6 separate regions of the Homo sapiens genome follow, and all the other regions are linked to region 3. Evidence: promoter capture Hi-C in 16 types of primary human blood cells and fetal thymus (Javierre and others, 2016). All regions are on one chromosome and are shown on one strand. Each heading gives the region's core, a stretch centred on a gene start or on the middle of the fragment in contact. The rest is flanking DNA. Distances are from core to core; before and after follow the strand shown. Region 1 overlaps NPC1L1 (NPC1 like intracellular cholesterol transporter 1). Region 2 overlaps NUDCD3 (NudC domain containing 3). Region 3 holds the start of POLM (DNA polymerase mu). Region 4 overlaps DDX56 (DEAD-box helicase 56). Region 5 overlaps NUDCD3 (NudC domain containing 3). Region 6 overlaps NUDCD3 (NudC domain containing 3).

Evidence for each region. Contacts are between HindIII fragments. The CHiCAGO score rates a contact against its expected background, and 5 or more counts as called.
Region 1: a fragment that was not itself captured here is called in contact with the fragment with the promoter of POLM in region 3 in 2 of 17 cell types (M2 macrophages and M0 macrophages); the score reaches 5.5 in M2 macrophages.
Region 2: a contact is called between a fragment that was not itself captured here and the fragment with the promoter of POLM in region 3, in 15 of 17 cell types (total B cells, neutrophils, M1 macrophages and 12 more). The highest score is 12.9, in total B cells.
Region 4: a contact is called between a fragment that was not itself captured here and the fragment with the promoter of POLM in region 3, in 16 of 17 cell types (M1 macrophages, M0 macrophages, naive CD4 T cells and 13 more). The highest score is 13.3, in M1 macrophages.
Region 5: a contact is called between a fragment that was not itself captured here and the fragment with the promoter of POLM in region 3, in 1 of 17 cell types (M1 macrophages). The highest score is 5.8, in M1 macrophages.
Region 6: a contact is called between a fragment that was not itself captured here and the fragment with the promoter of POLM in region 3, in 1 of 17 cell types (M0 macrophages). The highest score is 5.1, in M0 macrophages.

The regions. Positions count from the first base shown.
Region 1 is chr7:44,515,894-44,519,178 of GRCh38, reverse strand. NPC1L1 (NPC1 like intracellular cholesterol transporter 1) reads left to right here. Exons shown (of 19, transcript NM_001101648.2): 15 at 1,822-1,972; 16 at 2,245-2,476; 17 at 2,982-3,095; 18 at 3,214-3,285. Among named protein-coding and RNA genes, the nearest start is that of NPC1L1, 24 kb to the left of the region's middle. The HindIII fragment of the contact is 7,058 bases long and covers 1-3,285 here.
Region 2 is chr7:44,477,722-44,480,978 of GRCh38, reverse strand. All of the region lies in intron 2 of NUDCD3 (NudC domain containing 3), which reads left to right. Among named protein-coding and RNA genes, the nearest start is that of NUDCD3, 11 kb to the left of the region's middle. The HindIII fragment of the contact is 6,664 bases long and covers 1-3,257 here.
Region 3 is chr7:44,081,280-44,084,127 of GRCh38, reverse strand. POLM (DNA polymerase mu) reads left to right here and starts at 1,598. Exons shown (of 11, transcript NM_013284.4): 1 at 1,598-1,877. The coding sequence starts at 1,690. RefSeq lists a silencer at 1,033-1,612 and an enhancer at 1,324-1,824. The HindIII fragment of the contact is 8,170 bases long and covers 1-2,848 here.
Region 4 is chr7:44,565,727-44,568,783 of GRCh38, reverse strand. DDX56 (DEAD-box helicase 56) reads left to right here. Exons shown (of 14, transcript NM_019082.4): 12 at 561-666; 13 at 2,260-2,336; 14 at 2,705-2,980. The coding sequence ends at 2,782. Among named protein-coding and RNA genes, the nearest start is that of DDX56, 6.7 kb to the left of the region's middle. RefSeq lists an enhancer at 2,621-3,057 and a silencer at 2,974-3,057. The HindIII fragment of the contact is 3,764 bases long and covers 1-3,057 here.
Region 5 is chr7:44,415,356-44,418,448 of GRCh38, reverse strand. The region is part of intron 3 of NUDCD3 (NudC domain containing 3); the gene reads left to right. Among named protein-coding and RNA genes, the nearest start is that of NUDCD3, 74 kb to the left of the region's middle. The HindIII fragment of the contact is 3,443 bases long and covers 1-3,004 here.
Region 6 is chr7:44,445,097-44,448,041 of GRCh38, reverse strand. All of the region lies in intron 2 of NUDCD3 (NudC domain containing 3), which reads left to right. Among named protein-coding and RNA genes, the nearest start is that of NUDCD3, 44 kb to the left of the region's middle. The HindIII fragment of the contact is 4,100 bases long and covers 1-2,945 here.

The DNA.
Region 1 (3,285 bases), core at 600-3,099, 430 kb before region 3:
CTCACGCCTATAATCCCAGTACGTTGGGAGGCCAAGGTGGGAGGATCACTTGAGCCCAGGAGTCTAGTCTGTCTGAGACCAGCCTGGGCAAAAAAGCCAGATATTGAAAGAAAAGAAGAGAGAAGAAAAGGAAAGAAAAGAAAAGAAAAGAAAGAAAGGGAGAAAGAGAGAGAGAGAAAGAGAGAGAAAGAGAAAGAAAGAAAGAAGGAAGGAAGGAAGGAAGAAAAAGAAAGAAAGAAAGAAAAAGAAGAAACGCAAGTTCTCAGCCCTCACCCAAGACTTTGCAGACCCCGAATTGCTGGGCTGGGCTGGGCATTTGTGTGTGAACTACCCTCCAGGTGGTCAGAGGCCTGGTGGGAAGTTCTCCAGGCACCTCCCCTGCTCTGAGATTGTATGTATCCAAGAACATTTCTCTTCTTTTTTCTCCACACCTATGTAGCACTATTGTTTCTTTTTCAGATACACATGCTCACTGTACACAATAAAGAAATAACTTTTTTTTTTTTTTTGAGACACAGTTGCCATTCTGTCACCCAGGCTGGAGTACAGTGGCACAATCTCGGCTCACTGCAACCTCTACCTCCTGGATTCAAGTAATTCTCCTGCCTCAGCCTCCCTAGTAGCTGGGATTACAGGCACATGCCACTATGCTCAGCTAATTTTTGTATTATTAATAGAGGCAGAGTGTCGCCAAGAAACAACCTTTTTGGGCCAGGTGCGGTGGCTCACACCTGTAATCCCAGCAGTTTGGGAGACCGAGGCCGGCGAATCACTTGAGGTCAGGAGTTTGAGACCAGCCTGGCCAACATGGTGAAACCCTGTCTCTACTAAAAATACAAAAATTAGCCAGGCATGGTGGCATGCACCTGTAATCCCAGCTACTTGGGAGGCTGAGGCAGGACAATCACTTGAACCCGGGAAGCAGAAGTTGCAGTGAGCCAAGATCGCACCACTGCACTCCAGCTGCGGTGACAGTGAGACTCTGTCTCGAAAACAAAAACAAGAACAAAAAACCCTTTATTGTATAAAGGTCTTAATAACCTTAATTTCTTCTTTTTTTTTTTTGAGATGGGATCTTGCTCTGTTGCCCAGCTGGAGTGCAGTAGCATGATCTCAGCTCACTGCAGCCTCTGCCTCCTGAGTTCAAGAATTCTCCTGCCTCAGCCCCCCAAGTAGCTGGGATTACAGGGGTGTGCCACCACGCCTGGCTAATTTTTGCATTTTTAGTAGAGACAGGGTTTCACCATGTTGGGCAGGCTGGTCTTGAACTCCTGACCTCAGGTGATCGACCTGCCTTAGCCTTCCAAAGTGCTGGGATTACAGGCATGAGCCACCACACCCGGCCAATAACCTTAATTTCTTAAAAGTCATTAAGAAATAACCTTTATCTGGCAGGAGCCCTAAGCCACAGCTCTAATAATCCAACCGTTCTCATTTTTCTGTCTTCCTTTCTAGTCCTTTCCTATAGGAATATGCAAATTAAAAACCAATTAAGTTAATTTTAAAAATCCAATGCATATCTTGAAACCATACAGAGAAGAATCTCGGTTCACTAGGGAGATCTCTGTAGGCTTCACTCATCAAAGGTCAGGCCTGGGTCTCCCACAGCAGTGGGGCCAGCTATGGAGTTTGCAGGGCTGGTGCAAAACAAAAATATGGGCCTCTTGCACAAAATTTACTAAGAATTTCAAATGGTGGTGGCAGAGCCCTGAACCCCGCTTGATCACATGCCTGTGCCACTGCGTCTGCGGTGTTCTGAAGTTGTCCTGGAAAGGGCTCTGACCTTTGCCCTTCCATCTTCTGTGTGCCATGGCTGTCCAGCCTCCAGGTTCATGGCCTATCACAAGCCCCTGAAAAACTCACAGGATTACACAGAAGCTCTGCGGGCAGCTCGAGAGCTGGCAGCCAACATCACTGCTGACCTGCGGAAAGTGCCTGGAACAGACCCGGCTTTTGAGGTCTTCCCCTACACGTGAGGACCTGAGTGGCTGGGCTGGAGGGAGGTGGGGTATGGTTGCTGGAGACTGGAGGTTAGGGTGGAGGGCTTGCAAGGAGTTGCATGAGATGAGGACCAGTTTTAGGTCAGGAGGCTCTGGCTGCAGCCTTGGGCCTATTTCTTAGGCTGGTTTGTACCCCAATATAAGCCTGCCTGACCCTCAGCATTCTCCTTCTGAAGTGGGGTGTCCCACCCACCATGAGGGCCCCAGAGGCCTGAGCCTGTGACCATGCTCTGTGCTCTGGCAGGATCACCAATGTGTTTTATGAGCAGTACCTGACCATCCTCCCTGAGGGGCTCTTCATGCTCAGCCTCTGCCTTGTGCCCACCTTCGCTGTCTCCTGCCTCCTGCTGGGCCTGGACCTGCGCTCCGGCCTCCTCAACCTGCTCTCCATTGTCATGATCCTCGTGGACACTGTCGGCTTCATGGCCCTGTGGGGCATCAGTTACAATGCTGTGTCCCTCATCAACCTGGTCTCGGTAACCCAGCAGACACAGGCACCAGGGGGCCTCTGGAGGGGTGGTTGGGGATCCAGCCTCATAGAATACTCCTAGTTCTTTTTTGTTTCTTTTTTTAGAGGCAGGGTCTTGCTCTGTTGCTCAGGCTTGAGGGCAGTGACATGATCACAGCTCACTGTAGCCTCGAACCCTTGGGCTCAAGCGATCCTCCTACCTCAGCCTCCAAAGTAGCCAGGACTACAGGCACGTGCCACTGCGTCCAGCTAATATTTTAATTTTTGTTGTAGAGACAGGGTCTCACTTTGTTGCCCAGGCTGGTCTCAAACTCCTGGGCTCAAGTGATCCTCTCACCTCGGCCTCCCAAAGTGTTGGGATTATAGGCATGAGCCACTGCACCCGGCCAAATACTCCCAGTTCTGTCTAGAATCTAGATGCCTGCCCCACGCTGGTCCTGGTGGAGGCCTCATCTCCCTAGTTCCTTCCCCACCTCTGCCTTTCTTGGCTTATGCCCCCTCTCTGCCCATAGGCGGTGGGCATGTCTGTGGAGTTTGTGTCCCACATTACCCGCTCCTTTGCCATCAGCACCAAGCCCACCTGGCTGGAGAGGGCCAAAGAGGCCACCATCTCTATGGGAAGTGCGGTGAGTGGAGAGGAGTGGGCCACCCTGTGCCCCACTCGACACCCTGTGCCCTGCCTGATGCCCTGTGCCCTGCCTGATGCCCTGTGCCCTGCCTGACACCTGGCTCTGAACCCCCCAGGTGTTTGCAGGTGTGGCCATGACCAACCTGCCTGGCATCCTTGTCCTGGGCCTCGCCAAGGCCCAGCTCATT
Region 2 (3,257 bases), core at 474-2,973, 400 kb before region 3:
AAATTTTTGGATTTTTTTTTTTTTTTTTTTTTTTTTTGATACTGGGTCTTGCTCTGTTGCCCATACTGGAATGCAGTGACATGATCTTGGCTCACTGCAGCCTCTGCCTTCTGAGCTCAAGCGAGCCTCCCACCTCAGCCTCCCAAGTAGCTGGGACTACAGGCGTGCACCACCTTGCCCAGCTGATTTTTGTATTTTTTGTAGAGATAGGGTCTTACCATGTTGCCCAGGCTGGTGTCGAACTGGTGAGCTCAAGTGATCCACTCGCCTCAGCCTCGTAAAGTGCTGGGATTATAGGTGTGAGGCACCATGCCTGGCCATTTTTTGGGAATATTTTTGATCCTCAGCAAATATTTTGGTAAATATTTTTTGGGAATATTTTGATTTGGGCTATGGAACCCATGGATAGCGAGGGCTGACTATATCTGCTGCTTCTGTTTCTTTGGTGGAACCTTGACTTATACAGATATTTTCATGATATAATGTTAAGTGAGAAGGGGAGAATTCAAACTATATAGTCTAATATCAAATTTGAAAACTTTAAAAATTATGTATGTAGAAAAAAAGCTGGAAGAAAATAGTAGTAGTAATCACAGAGTGGTGGAATTGTGAGTGTTCTTCATTTTTATCTTTGTCCCTTACTATATTTTCTAATTTTTCTGTAATGACCATTTATTTTGTTTTATTAATTTTTTTGTATTCCTTTTATGATCTCTAAAAAATGAAAGGAGGGTATTGGTTTTGATTTCTGAGTAATAGACTAGAATAGCTACTTTGTTGTTTTGTAGAGACCCTATTTTAAAATTCTTGAACCAGTGAATTTTGTTCTGGGTTAGAATTAGAGTTAGTTTTGTGAGTTCTACCTTAAAAATAAGTATAGAGTGAAGACTTGGATATGTTTCAGGAAAGCTAACCTTTCTACTTGGTAGCTCTTTGTTCAGAATAGACTGGTACCGCAAGAATCCTAATCAAACCTTTCCAAGGACTGGAACATTCTCAGCTTCAGTTACTTGTTTTCCTTGAACAAAACAGGAAGTTGTGGCACCGATCTCTAGTTATACCTGAAATGTAGTGTTTTAGCAGATTTGAAAATAGAATGTGAAAGACCATCCTTTTCCTTGTTCTACCTTTAGCTGCACCCCAAGTCCTCCCACCAGTGTTCAGGATGGTTTATCCTATAAATTATAGATCTGCAGTTCTTTTAATTGAGTAATTTAAGGTAGTTATTCTGTAGAAGACCACACAGAAGCACCATCTTTTGTGAGCACTCTGTCTAAAATCTGAGAATCTAAGTCTTAGATTGCTGATATCTGATGACTCTTACTTGACATGTTTTTCGGTTCTAACCAGTATTAGGCAAAAACTCCCTTTTTGTATACTACAGTAAAGTCACATCACATGCTTATTTAATTTAAATAAATTCAGTGTAAGTGCTGGGAAAGAAAGAAACAAGATTAAAAATAATGTATTTATATTTTGTATATATGTATTTTGAATTTTATTTTTTTAGAGACAGGATCTTGCTGTGTTTTTCAGGCTGAACTCGAACTTCTGGGCTCAAGTACTCCTCCTGCCTCTATATATGCATTTTTGTTGTAAGGTGTTCATTACTGTATACAGACAATTGTTTTGTGTTTTAGTAAAGTATAATTTATGTAACAATACAATTCATTCCTTTTAGAATACAGTTTATGACTTTGGACAAATGTAGTCTTGTAACCACCACAGTCAAGATAGATGACCAGTATGGTTTGGCTGTGTCCCCACCCAAATCTCATCTTGAATTGCAGTTCCCATAATCCTCACATGTCATGGGAGGGACCCGGTGGGAGGCAGTGAATCATGGGGGCAGTTATATCCATGTGGTTCTCGTGATAGTGAGTTCTCATAGACGGTTTTATAAGGGACTTTTCCCGCTTTGCTTGGCACGTCTTCCTGCTGGTATGTGAAGAAGGATGTGTTTACTTCCCCTTCTGTCATGATTGTAAGTTTTCTGAGGCCTCCCCAGCCATGCTGAACTGCGAGTCAATTAAACCTCTTTTCTTTATAAATTACCCCATCTTGGGTATGTCCTTATAGCAGCATGAGAATGGACTAATACAATGACATTTCCATTGGTGCCAGACTCCCAGATCCTGGCAACCTTGTGCCTGTGTTCTGCCCTAAAGCTGTTGCAGCATACATTGTTATTTATACATAATAATGTACAGGTTTCATTTATAGTATTTTTGGGGTGATTTGGGGGAAATTTTATTTTGACCTAATTTTACCATCACTCTGATTTTAGCATCTCCCTGACTAATAACCTACAATTGGTCTGAATTTCATTCTTGTTTCTGCCCTACTGTTGCTGCCAGGGCATGTCAAATGAAGATCAGAAATGCCCCCACCCCAGGGCTTAAAGGAACCTATCTTTTTCTTTTTTTAGACGGAGTTTTGCTCTTGTTGCCCAGGCTGGAGTGCAATGGCATGATCTCGGCTTACTGCAACTTCCACCTCCCAGGTTCAAGCGATTCTCCTGCCTTAGCCTTGCAAGTAGCTGGGAGTGCAGGTGCCTGCCACCATGCCTGGCTAATTTTTGTATTTTTTTAGTAGAGACAGGGTTTCACCATGTTGGCCATACTGGTCTGAAACTCCTGACCTTGGGTGATCCACCCATCTCGGTCTCCCAAAGTGCTGGAATTACAGGCGTGAGCCACCGCGCCCGGCCCAAAGTAAATAACCCATCTTATTCCTCAGAGAAGAGAGAGAATTTGCACACAGATATTTCCCTATTTGCACAAGATAGCATCAGAGAATGTGCTTATATTCTGTAAGGATGCTTTACAATTTTAATAGTTGTTCAGGCTGGGTGTGGTGGCTCATGCCTGTAATCTCAGCACTGTTAGAGGCCGAGGCCGGCTGATCATTTGAAGTCAGGAGTTTGAGACAAGCCTCACCAACATGGTGAAACTCTGTCTCTATAAAAATACAAAAAATTAACCAGGTGTGGTGGTGCGTGCCTGTAATCTCAGCTACACAGGAGGCTGAGGCAGCAGAATTGCATGAACCCGGGAGGTGGAGGTTGCAGTGAGTTGAGATTGTGCCACTGCACTCCAGCCTGGGCGACAGAGCAGAGCGAGACTCCATCTAAAAAAAAAAAAAAAAAAAAAAAAAGAATTGTTCATAGTAAAGACTTTGTAAAAAGTGAAAAAGTGCCATTTGAGCCTCAGTGTTTATGTAATACTAGACTGGGTGACCAGTGCCTGCAGACATGA
Region 3 (2,848 bases), core at 349-2,848:
GCCCAGGAAGCTCTACAGCCCTGAAGAGGTAGATGAATTAGGAGGCTGGGAGATGGTGTAGGAGGTCAAGAGGATGCCTGGGCTGAGCCATCTCCCCCACTCCCCTCAGCCCTGTGCTCTGAGTGCAGAGATGGGGAAGAGCCAGCCCACTAAAGATGTCAGAGAGGAGCCAAAGAAAAAGGATAGGTGCTCAAGGAGTCTGGGGCTCAAGACTGAGGACGATGGGGCAGTGATGAGGAGAGGCATGTGGAAGGGGGTTGCATCTGATCTGGTGTCCCATCAGTTAGGCTGAGCAGTGCCACACTACCGTAACAGAGGTTACAAATGGAGTATATCTAAATAAGATAGACAGAAGACTTGATATTATCAAGACATCAGATTTCCCCAGCTTGATCTATAGATTCAATGCAATCCCAATCTTGGGAAAGGAATTGCTGGATCAATGTGTATTATTTTGTTTTCATTTTGTTGGATGTGGTTGCCACATTGGCTTCCACAGTCCTTCCTATGGATTGCCAATTACCTCGCACCTTCAACATGTGTGGTCAATTTTTTTGAATGTTTGATAAACCCACAACTGAAGATATTCTCATTTAGGTATTCTGTAACGACTGGACAGGTTGGGCACTCTGGTCATAAATTTATTGACCAGGATTTCTTCTAAGAATCATCTACGTGAGTTTTTTTGCTAATTTTTCTATTAAATTATTGTCTTTTTATCTATGGACAATTTGATAAGATTATCATGAGATAATCTTAATTCCAAAATATCTCACACTTTATCCCAGTTTATCTTCTGACTCTAATTTTTAATCAGATTTAAAATTTGTCTGTAGTCCAGTTTATCATTCTTTTCCTTTAGTGTTTCCAAGTTTATTGTGATATTTAGATCATAAAAACATTCACCGACTTTTTTCCAGTACGTTGTTGGTTTCCTTTTTAGATGGAAATGTTTGACCCATCTGGAATTTATTTTGGTGTTAAGGAATGAGGAAGGGCACCAACTTCTATTTTTCCAAATGGCCTGCCAGTTGTCCTAATGCCATTCGACTGAAAAATCTTCCCGCGTGTTTGAAGCGACCGCCCCACCAGCGCATTGGAAACCCGCGTGTCGGTCCTGCGCCCGCCGGCTTCCGTGTGACAGTCCCGAGCGCAGAGGGATCGGGCACAGCCCGCACGCGTCCGCCCCGAGCCGCCGGCTCAACCCTAGACCCAGCCCCGGCGCCAAGGACACAGCCCACCCCGCTCCGCCCGGGCCTAGGTCCCAGTTCACCCTCCCTAGCCGGGGACGCCCCCTTGACCCCGCCTCCTCCACCCCCTCCAACACCCTCCCCGCCCCGCTCCAGCCCAGCCTCTCCTCCCGGAGGCCAATGGGGCCGAACAGCGCTTTCCGAGACATTAATTTAAATAAAAGGCGGGTCCTCTGCCGTTATTTGCATGGAGGCGGGTCTTCCGGAGCGGCCGGGACACCCAATCCTGTAGGAGCCCGGACCCTCCCCAGCGCTCCGACTGGCCCAAGTAGCGAGCCCCACGGAGAGGCCTCATTTGCATAGGGCGGGGCCACGTCCTCTTCCAGCCGGCGGCCGCCCGCCCGCCCACCCGCTTCCGTCAGCCTCACTGGGGCTTCCTTCCGTCTCGCTCGGAGTTTCCCTCTGCGTTCGCTCCGCGCTGCTGGAGGCTGTCGTCCCAATGCTCCCCAAACGGCGGCGAGCGCGGGTCGGGTCCCCTAGCGGCGATGCCGCTTCCTCCACGCCGCCCTCGACGCGCTTCCCGGGAGTCGCCATCTACCTGGTCGAGCCTCGCATGGGTCGCAGCCGCCGGGCCTTCCTCACAGGCCTGGCGCGCTCCAAAGGCTTCCGCGTCCTTGACGCCTGCAGGTGCGGGGCGGCGCGGCGCGGCGAGGGCTTCCATGGCACTTCTGGTTTTGGATTCTAAGTTTGCAGTGGCACTTCGTGGTCTTGTGACCTTTCCCTGAGCCTCCATCTCCTCTTCTGTAAAGGGTGCTATTAATTAGGGCGAGGCGTGTTTTAAAGGATCACTGCGAGAATCAAAACCAGAGGTCAGGGGTAATTAATAAGCAGTAGGCCGGGCGCGGTGGCTCACGCCTGTAATCCCAGCACTTTGGGAGGCCGAGGCGGGCAGATCACGAGGTCAGGAGATCGAGACCATCCTGGCTAACACGGTGAAACCCCGTCTCTACTAAAAATACAAAAAATTAACCGGAGGTGGTGGCGGGCACCTGTAGTCCCAGCTACTCGGGAGGCTGAGGCAGGAGAATGGCATGAACCTGGGAGGCGGAGCTTGCAGTGAGCCGAGATCGCGCCACTGCACTCCAGCCTGGGCGACAGAGTGAGACTCTGTCTCAAAAAAAAAAAAAAAAAAAGTCGTATTTGCTAACAGCCCTTCTGCCTGGGCTATGTCCCACCTGTGAGCGAGACTGACTTCTCAAGAGGCCCGGAGCCCGCAGGCTCCTCTGTCCTCAGGCCTGAGTAAATAACACGACTGAGAAGCTCTTGTAGGAAGGGAACCAAGAGAAGAAAAAATGGCGGCTACAGAGACAACACCCAGAGTAAGGGAGCTGGGGGTGCCCCCTAGTTTGGAGGTTGAGAGAGCAAACGAACCTGGGGCTAGTATTCCCCCACAGTTGTGTTTGATTTTTTAACATTACCAGGGATCAGTAGTGCGCCAGACCCACTCAGGAGAGGATGATAGCAGCTTAGAGTGTACAAGGCACTATCTTTGTACAACAACCCCACAGGGTGGATATGTTATCTCTGCTTTACAGAAGAGGAAATCAAAGTATAGACACGTGGCTTGCCCAAGAGCCAAACAAGTATGTGGCAGGCAG
Region 4 (3,057 bases), core at 510-3,009, 480 kb before region 3:
AGGGGAGGAAATGGACCCAGAATCATGGAAGGAAGCCAGTCTGTTCTGCTTGGTGGTAAATTGGCACAACCTTATGGTGGACACTGTCCAGCAGAATTACGAGCTCATGTGTCCTTTCATCCGAAATTCCACTTCTGGAACTTAATCCTGGTCACGCTTGTGAATGTGCACAGTCAAGCATGTGCCTGCATTCATCCATCCATGGCATTATCATGGAACCAAAAGATGGAAACAGCCTGGGGCCACCATAGGGGGCTTGCTAGGTAAACTCAGGTGCATTCAGAGCCGAAGGTTACATGGGAAGGAATGAGGTTGGTTGCGTGTCCATATGGAACAGTCTGTAAGATGATGCCCAGCAAAAAGGGGTACAGGGTACTGCCATGTGTGTCATGGAGAAGGGAAAATGGAAACATCCACTCCCGGGAGGTTCTGAGAAATGCACAGAAGCAGCTGCCTCATGCCTTTTGAAACACATGAGTGTGTTATCCTTTGAAAAGCTAGGTCTGTGAAGTCACAGAAGAAAGATGCTCACTCTGTGGCTCTCCCTCTTCCCCCGGCAGACATACTTTGAAGACAACCCTAGGGACCTCCAGCTGCTGCGGCATGACCTACCTTTGCACCCCGCAGTGGTGAAGCCCCACCTGGGCCATGTTCCTGACTACCTGGGTGAGTGTGGCCTGACAGGGCAGGAGGCAGCAGGCTGGGGAAGTGGCATTAATTTCTCCACTGCTGGGTCAGCCCCTGTGCTTGGTGCTGGGGATGCTCAGGCAGAATAGAACCTGGAGACCCTGGCAGCACGCGGGCATGTAAACAGGCACACCCCTGTGTTTCTAAACTTGTTTGCTTGGTCCCACGGGTTAGCTGTTGCTGTCTCCATTTTAGAGATGAGGAAATTGAGGTAGTGCAGGGTGGGTGGCAGACCCAGCATTTCAGGCCAGGTCGTCTCCAGAGCTGGGCCAAATGGCCATCCATGGGTCGAAGGGAGTGAACAGGTTTGGGAGAGAGTCACGGGCAGGAGGCAGAGAGAGCCACCTGTGCTGCAAAAGACTCAAGATTAGCAGCTGCTGAAGAGGCATCTGTGGAGTCTCTGGGTAAGAACAGTCAGCAGGGAGACAGACTCTGTAAGGCCTAAACCGACAAGGTAGCAAGAGAAGAGCCAGTGGTGGTGCGAGGGATGCAGGGGTTGGCAGGCATGAGGTCAGGACCCTGGGATTGGTTTCTGTAGTGCAGCCCAGGCTAGAGCTTTATGTGGCCATTAATACTGGGCACCTCTCCTCATCTTTGGCAGGCTCTGGGTAATGACTTCTTTCAGTGTCTCATAGGAGGTGTTTTTGGTAATGAGTATGTGTGACTTTTATGCCTAAAATGGATTGAAGGAGGAGAGTGGTGGAGAGGAGGCTGTGGGCAGCAAGTGCAGGACCCTTCCCAATGCCACAGGGTCTGCTCAGCCTGGACCTGCAGCCACCCAGCGGGTGTGGTGTTGCTGCTATGGAGGTGACAAAGGGTGGAGATGGAATGTTCCAGGGCAGGAAAAGCCTGGGCACTGGGAAAGGAAGGATCCAGAAGAGATGGGAACATGAAAATGCCAGAGAGAGCGGTGGGGGCCGGGTTCCCATGGGACAGTGAGCTGGAGGAGACCCCAGTCCAGGTCCTGGCCTGAGATGTGAGGAGGGGAGTTGGGAGGGTGGGTAGGGAGGGAGAAGGTAAGGCTAGAACTTTGGCCTCAGGAACCCAGTCTGCTCGTATAGCGGAGTCATTTGCCAAGGTGTGGCCAGGAGGTTTAGAAGGGCCAGGAGAAGGTGGAAAGGTGTCAGGATGTGGGATGTTTGACATTTGAAGGGGAGGGCCCAGGTGTGGTTGGCCTGGGGGAGTCCATGGGGTGGGCGAGGTGAAGATAGAGCCAAGATCAGGTGCAGCTGGGATGCGGGGCCCCCTGTATCGGTAGTAATGGGCCACAGGTGAAGAAACTACCTGTTGACTTTTATTTCAGCTGCATTTTCTTTCTTTAAGGATGTCTGTCTTTTTCTTTCTTGTTACATGTTTGTTGTAACAAATCTAAACAATATAGGAGAGTGATTTAAATAGTGGAAGTCTAAGGTGCTCACATTCTCCTGGCCCTGTGCAGATGTGGTAGTGAATAGATGTATGTCATAGGCTGCCAGTTGGGTCAGAATTGGAGAATTTGCTGCAGAATCAGCGGGAGGGCAGGGATGGGAGCAGTAGCGGTGAGCCCACTGCTCAGGCAAGCATCTCTTCCAGTTCCTCCTGCTCTCCGTGGCCTGGTGCGCCCTCACAAGAAGCGGAAGAAGCTGTCTTCCTCTTGTAGGAAGGCCAAGGTACGGCTCCTGGGGACTGCGGACAGCCCCAGGACTCCTCCCAACCTGCTCTTTTGTCATCACCAGAATGTGGAGGCGCCTTGCCCTAGGGAGGGGAAGAGAGGGTGCCCTAGGGAGGGGAAGAGGGGGCACCCTAGAACCGGGCCCCAAAAATCTGGTGTGGGATAGGGGTACTTTTGCAGCCGCCTGCAGGCCCTGCTTTTCTTTCCCCAGCTGCCTTTCCCCATTTCCTTATCTGCAGCACCTTCTGGTCGTGTTGGCCAGTTGCCGGCACGGCTCCCTTTGTGTCTTTCTCAGTTGGGTGGGTGGGTGGGTGGATTGTCTGTCGGCCTGATTCCCCCAACTAACCTGTGACTTTGCCTCCTTAGAGAGCAAAGTCCCAGAACCCACTGCGCAGCTTCAAGCACAAAGGAAAGAAATTCAGACCCACAGCCAAGCCCTCCTGAGGTTGTTGGGCCTCTCTGGAGCTGAGCACATTGTGGAGCACAGGCTTACACCCTTCGTGGACAGGCGAGGCTCTGGTGCTTACTGCACAGCCTGAACAGACAGTTCTGGGGCCGGCAGTGCTGGGCCCTTTAGCTCCTTGGCACTTCCAAGCTGGCATCTTGCCCCTTGACAACAGAATAAAAATTTTAGCTGCCCCAGTTTGTGCCTCCAGCATATGAAAAGGACTATTTGAATCCCCAAAACATCAGGAGTCGGGAAACTTCGGAAGACAGCT
Region 5 (3,093 bases), core at 34-2,533, 330 kb before region 3:
GCTGTGGTTTGAGTCAGGTGTGTCTGCTTCTAAACCTTATGCTTTTCCCTCTGTGCCACCCTCCTTACTCTATACATACAAGTGGTGCTGGCTTCTTAGAAGGAGAGACTGTCCTGGAACACGTCTCATGTGCATTTATAGGAAATGAACCTCTCTGTATGGTGGGGGCAACTTGGCTTGCACCTTGCATCCCACATGGTGACAGTAAGGTGACTAGGCTTAGTCCCATTCCTGCCTCGGCTGGGTAGGTGTGAAGTCCAGGCTGGCCTGGAGCTGAGTCCCTCTGGCCCTCCTGTCCTGTGCCTTCCGACTCCATGACCACTCCCTCTGCAGTCTCTCCTTCATTCTCCAGGGGCCACTTGAAATAGGTAGACATGTCCTAAACCTGCCCTGTGTGTAGGAGTTTGGGTGGGGTCCATGGCATCCCTAAGAAGACTGAGACTTTTGCAAGTGCCCTGTGCCTTTAAGGTACCACAGGCACAGATCAGTGAGTTGCTGGTGGCCTGGCTTCGGCAGCAAGTAGCTGTGTGCTCAATTTTCCCTTCTTCCCACCCCACATCCCCAGTATATCTCTTACCAGCAACTGGTGACCTCTAGAATCATAGACTTCAGTATAATTTTAAGATCAAAGTCAGACCAGATCACTAGGGATCATCCACACGGAATTCTATTTTCAAATGACTACTTCCTGTCTGTTTTTAATAGGCCAGGAGCAGGAGCTAATAGCTCTTCCCAAGTAGTTTATCCAGAATTTTGGGGTTTTAGTGGGTTAGGTGTTGATTTCCATTTCATTTTTTGTTAGTATTGCCGTGTATGTAGTTGAATAAATTAGGAAAAGCATCGATTGCCATGCTTCATTCACTTGGCTAAAAAAAATTTACAGTTTCCTGGTCCTTTATCTGTCTTCTGAACTGCTCTATGAACCCCTGGGGCTTTCTCTGAAAGGGTTTGTATTAGGCCCAAGCTAAAACTGGTTATTTTCTCTTTTTTTGACTCAAGAGACCCAGGTTAGCTAACAGCTTTCACCATACTTTGCACAGCTACCTGGGACAACTCCCCACTGGAAATGGTGTCTCAGATATGCTTGTTGACTATCTGGGATGTTGATGCCATGATTCTTCCCTGTGGTCGGCACCGTGTTATGAGGGTCCTGCCCTGATGTCTTGTCTGAAGTTCAGATTTACACCTCTCTCAAATGCACTTATCATGACCTCTAAGATGATGTGGCTCTACTATCACCAAGGATAACCCTGGATTTGGCTCATTCTACATTAGACGTTTTCTAAACGTGTGGGCTGTGCTTTGTCCCAGGAACTGGGCATGTGGGAGTCACCAAGACAGACAAGATTGCTGGTTTGGAGCTTATATCCCAGTGGGGTACAGCAGTAAAAGTCAGTAAATAAATGAGCAAGATGGAGGCAGGTGCCGTATAGAACCTAAAAGTGGGTGGTTTGTGTATTTAACCAGCACTCGTGTGGTGCCCTCTCTGTGTCTTGAAATAGTGAGTTGTCCCCCCCAGTCCTCCTATCATGCAGGCAGTCGCTGTGCACCCATGAGGGCTACTGAGAGCTGTGTGTGCATGGTCTCAGCCAATAAGAGCCAGGTCACAATCAAGGCTTGCTCTGGAGCTAGTGCTCTCTCTCACCTCAGAGAAGGGTCGAAGGTGAAGTTTGGTTATAAGTATCAGGATAGAAGGATGGAAGGAAGGGACTTCTTTTTTCAGTGGCTTATTTAATAGTGGCTTGCCTTATTTATTTATTAACACGGTATATCTATGTGACAATAGGCCTTTTGTGATGCTCGCTGACCTAATTTGTACTGGTGACCTGCCTTGGTGGCATGCTTCATCTCCTATGGGGTTGGAAAAACTTTTTTCTCCTTCAATAGTATTTTTTTTCCCCATGTCATTCTTACAACACTGCAGACCTCTTATTTTTTTTATTTTTTATTTTTTTTTGATTTGGAGTCTCGCTGTGTCACCCAGGCTAGAGTGCGGTGGCGCCATCTTGGCTCACTGCAACCTCCGACTTCCTAACTGCAGACCTCTTTTAAAAATTCTTGGCTTGGCATGGTGGCTCAAGCCTGTAATCCCAGCACTTTGGGAGGCTGAGGTGGGCAGATTGCTTGAGCCCAGGAATTTGAGACCAGCCTGGGCATCATGGTGAAAGCCCATCTCTACAAAACAGCACAAAAAAAATTTAGCTGGGGATGGTGGCACGCTGCTGTAGTCCTAGCTACTTGGGAGGCAGAGGTGGGAGGATTACCTGAGCCCAGGAGGTCAAGGCTTCTGCGAACTGTGATTGTGCCACTGCACTCCACCTTGGGCAACAGAGTAAGACCCTATCTCAAAAAATAAATAAAATAAAGTAAAAATAAAAATTCTTGGTCTCTTAATTGCTGAATGATTTTTTTTTTAGTCGTACCTCACTTAAAACTTTGGAAAAAGTTTATTTTGTATCTCTTGGATTTTGCTTGTCTAAGTGTTTTTCTTCAGAGCTGTACTTTCTTTCTGGCCTGGCCAGTTATTCCCTAAGTCTACCTGTCACGGTTGCCTGTCAGCAGTGTTTATTTTTGTTTTTTGTCTGTGGCACCTATGGGACATTGTCACGATGGTAACCCCGGCTGCAACAACTCAACTGATAAAATCAGAATCTGTTCTGGGTTGGTGATTCAGGGGCTTTGCTTAGGCAGCCCAGTGTTTGTGTTGGGGCTGTGGATAGAGCTTCACAGGAGAGCCAGATCCTCTACTCTCCAGCTGTAGCTTGATGCAGGCATTATCAGAGCTTTGCCTCTCCTGGAGTTTCTCATTGATCCCTTTTCTGTAGAATGGGTATGATGAGTTCACACTTGCTCTCTCAAGGGTAGTAGGAGACAAATAAGAGTGTATGCATAATGCTTTATGTTCTTTAGAAGAAAACTAGAAAGTGTTCCTATTTTACATCGTAACATTTAAAAAAAATCATCTTGCTAGTGAATCTGAAAGAAAACTTCTCAAAATGAAGCTTTTAATTTCATACATTAGTAAAATGTGGTTAGGTCTTTTCCATCACATGTTCTTTGCTCAATCTACTCTGCTCTGTTTAGGAAAAGCAG
Region 6 (2,945 bases), core at 323-2,822, 360 kb before region 3:
GCGGCCTGACAGGTGCATTACAGCCTGAAGAACTGGGGTGAGGCCAGAATTTGGCTCAGCCACTTAGGGTATGTGACTATAGACCATTCCTTTAGCCTCTGGGAGCCTCCATTTCCCAGAGATGACAATTTCCAAGGGTGTGGTCAATTCTGTGTGCAATCCTGTGTGGCCAGACAGAGGTGCCCCTTGCTGATGGCCTGTCCCTTTTTCTTATTCCCTTCTAATTGATGTCATATGTCTCTTGTCTTCATGTGAACTTGATATCACCTAAGATCCATGGCTTTGAGGAAGGCTAATGCAAGGATGGTGTTTCAGTTCATTTGGGCTGCTGTAACAGAATACTTGAGAGCAGGTGTTTATACAAAATTTTATTTTCCTACAGTTCTGGAGGCTGGAAAATCCAAGATCAAGGCTCTGGCAGGTTCAGTTGTCAAGTGAGGGCTCTCTGCTTCTAAGATGGGCCTGATGCTGTGTCCTTTGGAGGGGTGGAATGCTGTGTCCTCACGTGGTGACAGGGACAGAAGGGGAAGAGAGCTGGATGCTGCGTGAAGCCTGTTTAATAAATGCCTTAATCTAGTCATAGGGGAGGAGCCCTCATAACCTAATCACTTCTTAATACCGTCACATTGGCCATTAAGTTTCCACACCTGAATTTTGGAGGAGACACATTCAAACCATAGTAGATGGGAAACATACGGAAACTTTCTACAGAAGACCTTCGTTACAGTGTTTGTTGGCCTGGGGCAGGCTACTCAGGCTCGTCACTTAAAGAATTATTTTTATTGTCTTCCTCTGGAGACTTTTGGTTTTGTCAGGTGAACGTTGTGGCTGTCAAACTTGCACGGACCATCCCATGCTGAGATGGGACTTCAATAAGTGCGTTAACAGATAGGTATCAGGTCTTCTTCTCCTACCAGGCCTGCCCCTAGGGAATGAAATGGCCTCATGGCGAAGCATCTCTTGGTTAAGGCTCTTCTAAGGCAAGAACTAATTGCTTTTCCTTGGCAGCCCAAGTAAATGTTCTCTGTGAGAAATGACTTTCTGACATTTGTTTCATTGTGGCTGTACTTACCAAAAAACTTTTATATAATTCACTACAGAGAATTCTCAAATGAATGTAATGAACATTGCCAGAAACTGGGCTGGATTTCTGAGGCATTGTTTTACTTACTTATTTTTTGGATTTTCAGTCAAATCATATAATCATGTTTGATGGAGTATCTAGTTCTGCCAGTTAAAAGGGTAATAGTATGGGGATTGCTAATTTACACATTAGTCAAAAATACTCCTTTGAAACACTTTTTAAGGGAGGCAATAAGAAGTGACTATTATGGCTTGAAGTGAGATACGCAGACAGCCCCCTACCCAAATGTCAGATGTAAACTAACAAAGCATGGTCACACCCTGGGCATTGGAAGGACCTGGTTGGCCAGCCTGGGGCCTAGGTTTTGGGGCATCCCTGCCAGCCATCCAGCCACCCTCAGAGCAGGCGTGCCTGGAGGATCTTGGCCCATTTATATGCAGAAGAGGATCAAATTGGCTAACACCAAGGCTTTATAAATAGTAGGACTGTTTCTCCAGCCTGTCTTCATTCTGTTCACAGCTAAAATTTCCTGGCAGCTTGTAACTAATGAGAACGGAAAAGTACTGTTTGCAGAGATTTCAGCTAGCTGACTTGAATGCTCCCATGATGCTTTGTCACTGATTGTTGTACTTACTGCTCTCTGGGGTGGCCATTCCCTTCCAAGTTGAGCTGGGTCTCAGGTAATGAAAACAGCAACTCTTTGACCAAGACCCTAAGATGGTCACAAGGAAAGCCCATTTTGTCCTCATGAGAGTATGACTACACACAGGCTCTCTGGCTGAGAACTGTGACACCCAGAGGTCACAGGCTTGGCTAAGGATGTCTATAGGACTTGAATAGTCCAGCCTCATGTGTCAATTGGGGATAATGTTTGGACTGGCATAGACCCATAGGTAAGTGTGCAGTAATGTCAGCTACAGCTAATAGGTTGTCTTACCTGAGCTCTGCACTACTTCTGCAATGGAAGTGTTGTTTCCCTGACTTTACTGATGAGCAAAGCGGAGGCTTAGAGACACAAGGTTGTATCACCAACTAGTGGCTGGGCAGGGATTTTTGACTCCAGAGTCTGTGTCCTTAAGTACTGGTTTCGGTTCTCCTTTATCTGGAATTCTTGAAAGATGTACCTTGCATTAATCAAATCAGACACGTAAAACCTCTTTGCCTTGGTTTTTCACTTTCTCATTAGAGAACTCATTGCTTCATAGAGCTTTACATCAGCTGAAAGTTGTCGTAACGGATTTCCATGCAGTGTGTGTGACTGTTTGTGTTGTGTTCATTTCTGTCTAGATACACCTTCCACTGTGCACACCTGTGTGCACACACACAACCCACCCCTCCTCCCCTCCAAAAACAAAACAAACAGGAAAAAGACCAAAAACAGTCATTGCGGATGTGGAGCAACCTGCAGAGACCTTGTGAGGCAGATGACATTGGAGGTCAGCAGTTGAGAAGGGGCAAGCACCTGGTCAGAGGGAGGAACCTGTGCAAAGAAATGATACCATTAAAGGGATGCTGATATTCCTGTGTTCCTAGGGGAAGGGAGTGAACAGGGATGGGGCTGGCAGGGACCACACTGTGCATGTCTCTGCCCTGCCAAGACCCTGATTCATGCTAAAGAATTGGGGCTTATCTTTAGAAACTGGGGCAACTTATCTAACTCAAGAGTGTTTGCTCAGATTTGTCAGAAAGTTAATAGGCAGCAGTCAGTCAGGGTGGACAAGGTAGGGGATGTAGAAAGGATACATACCAGGCAGCTGTTGCAGTTCAGGGGTGCATGTGCGGAAGATATAGAGATAGCACTGTGTTCTTTGGAGTGTAAGGGGCAGGCAGCAGGAAGGGTCAGCCAAAGGAAACCAGTGAG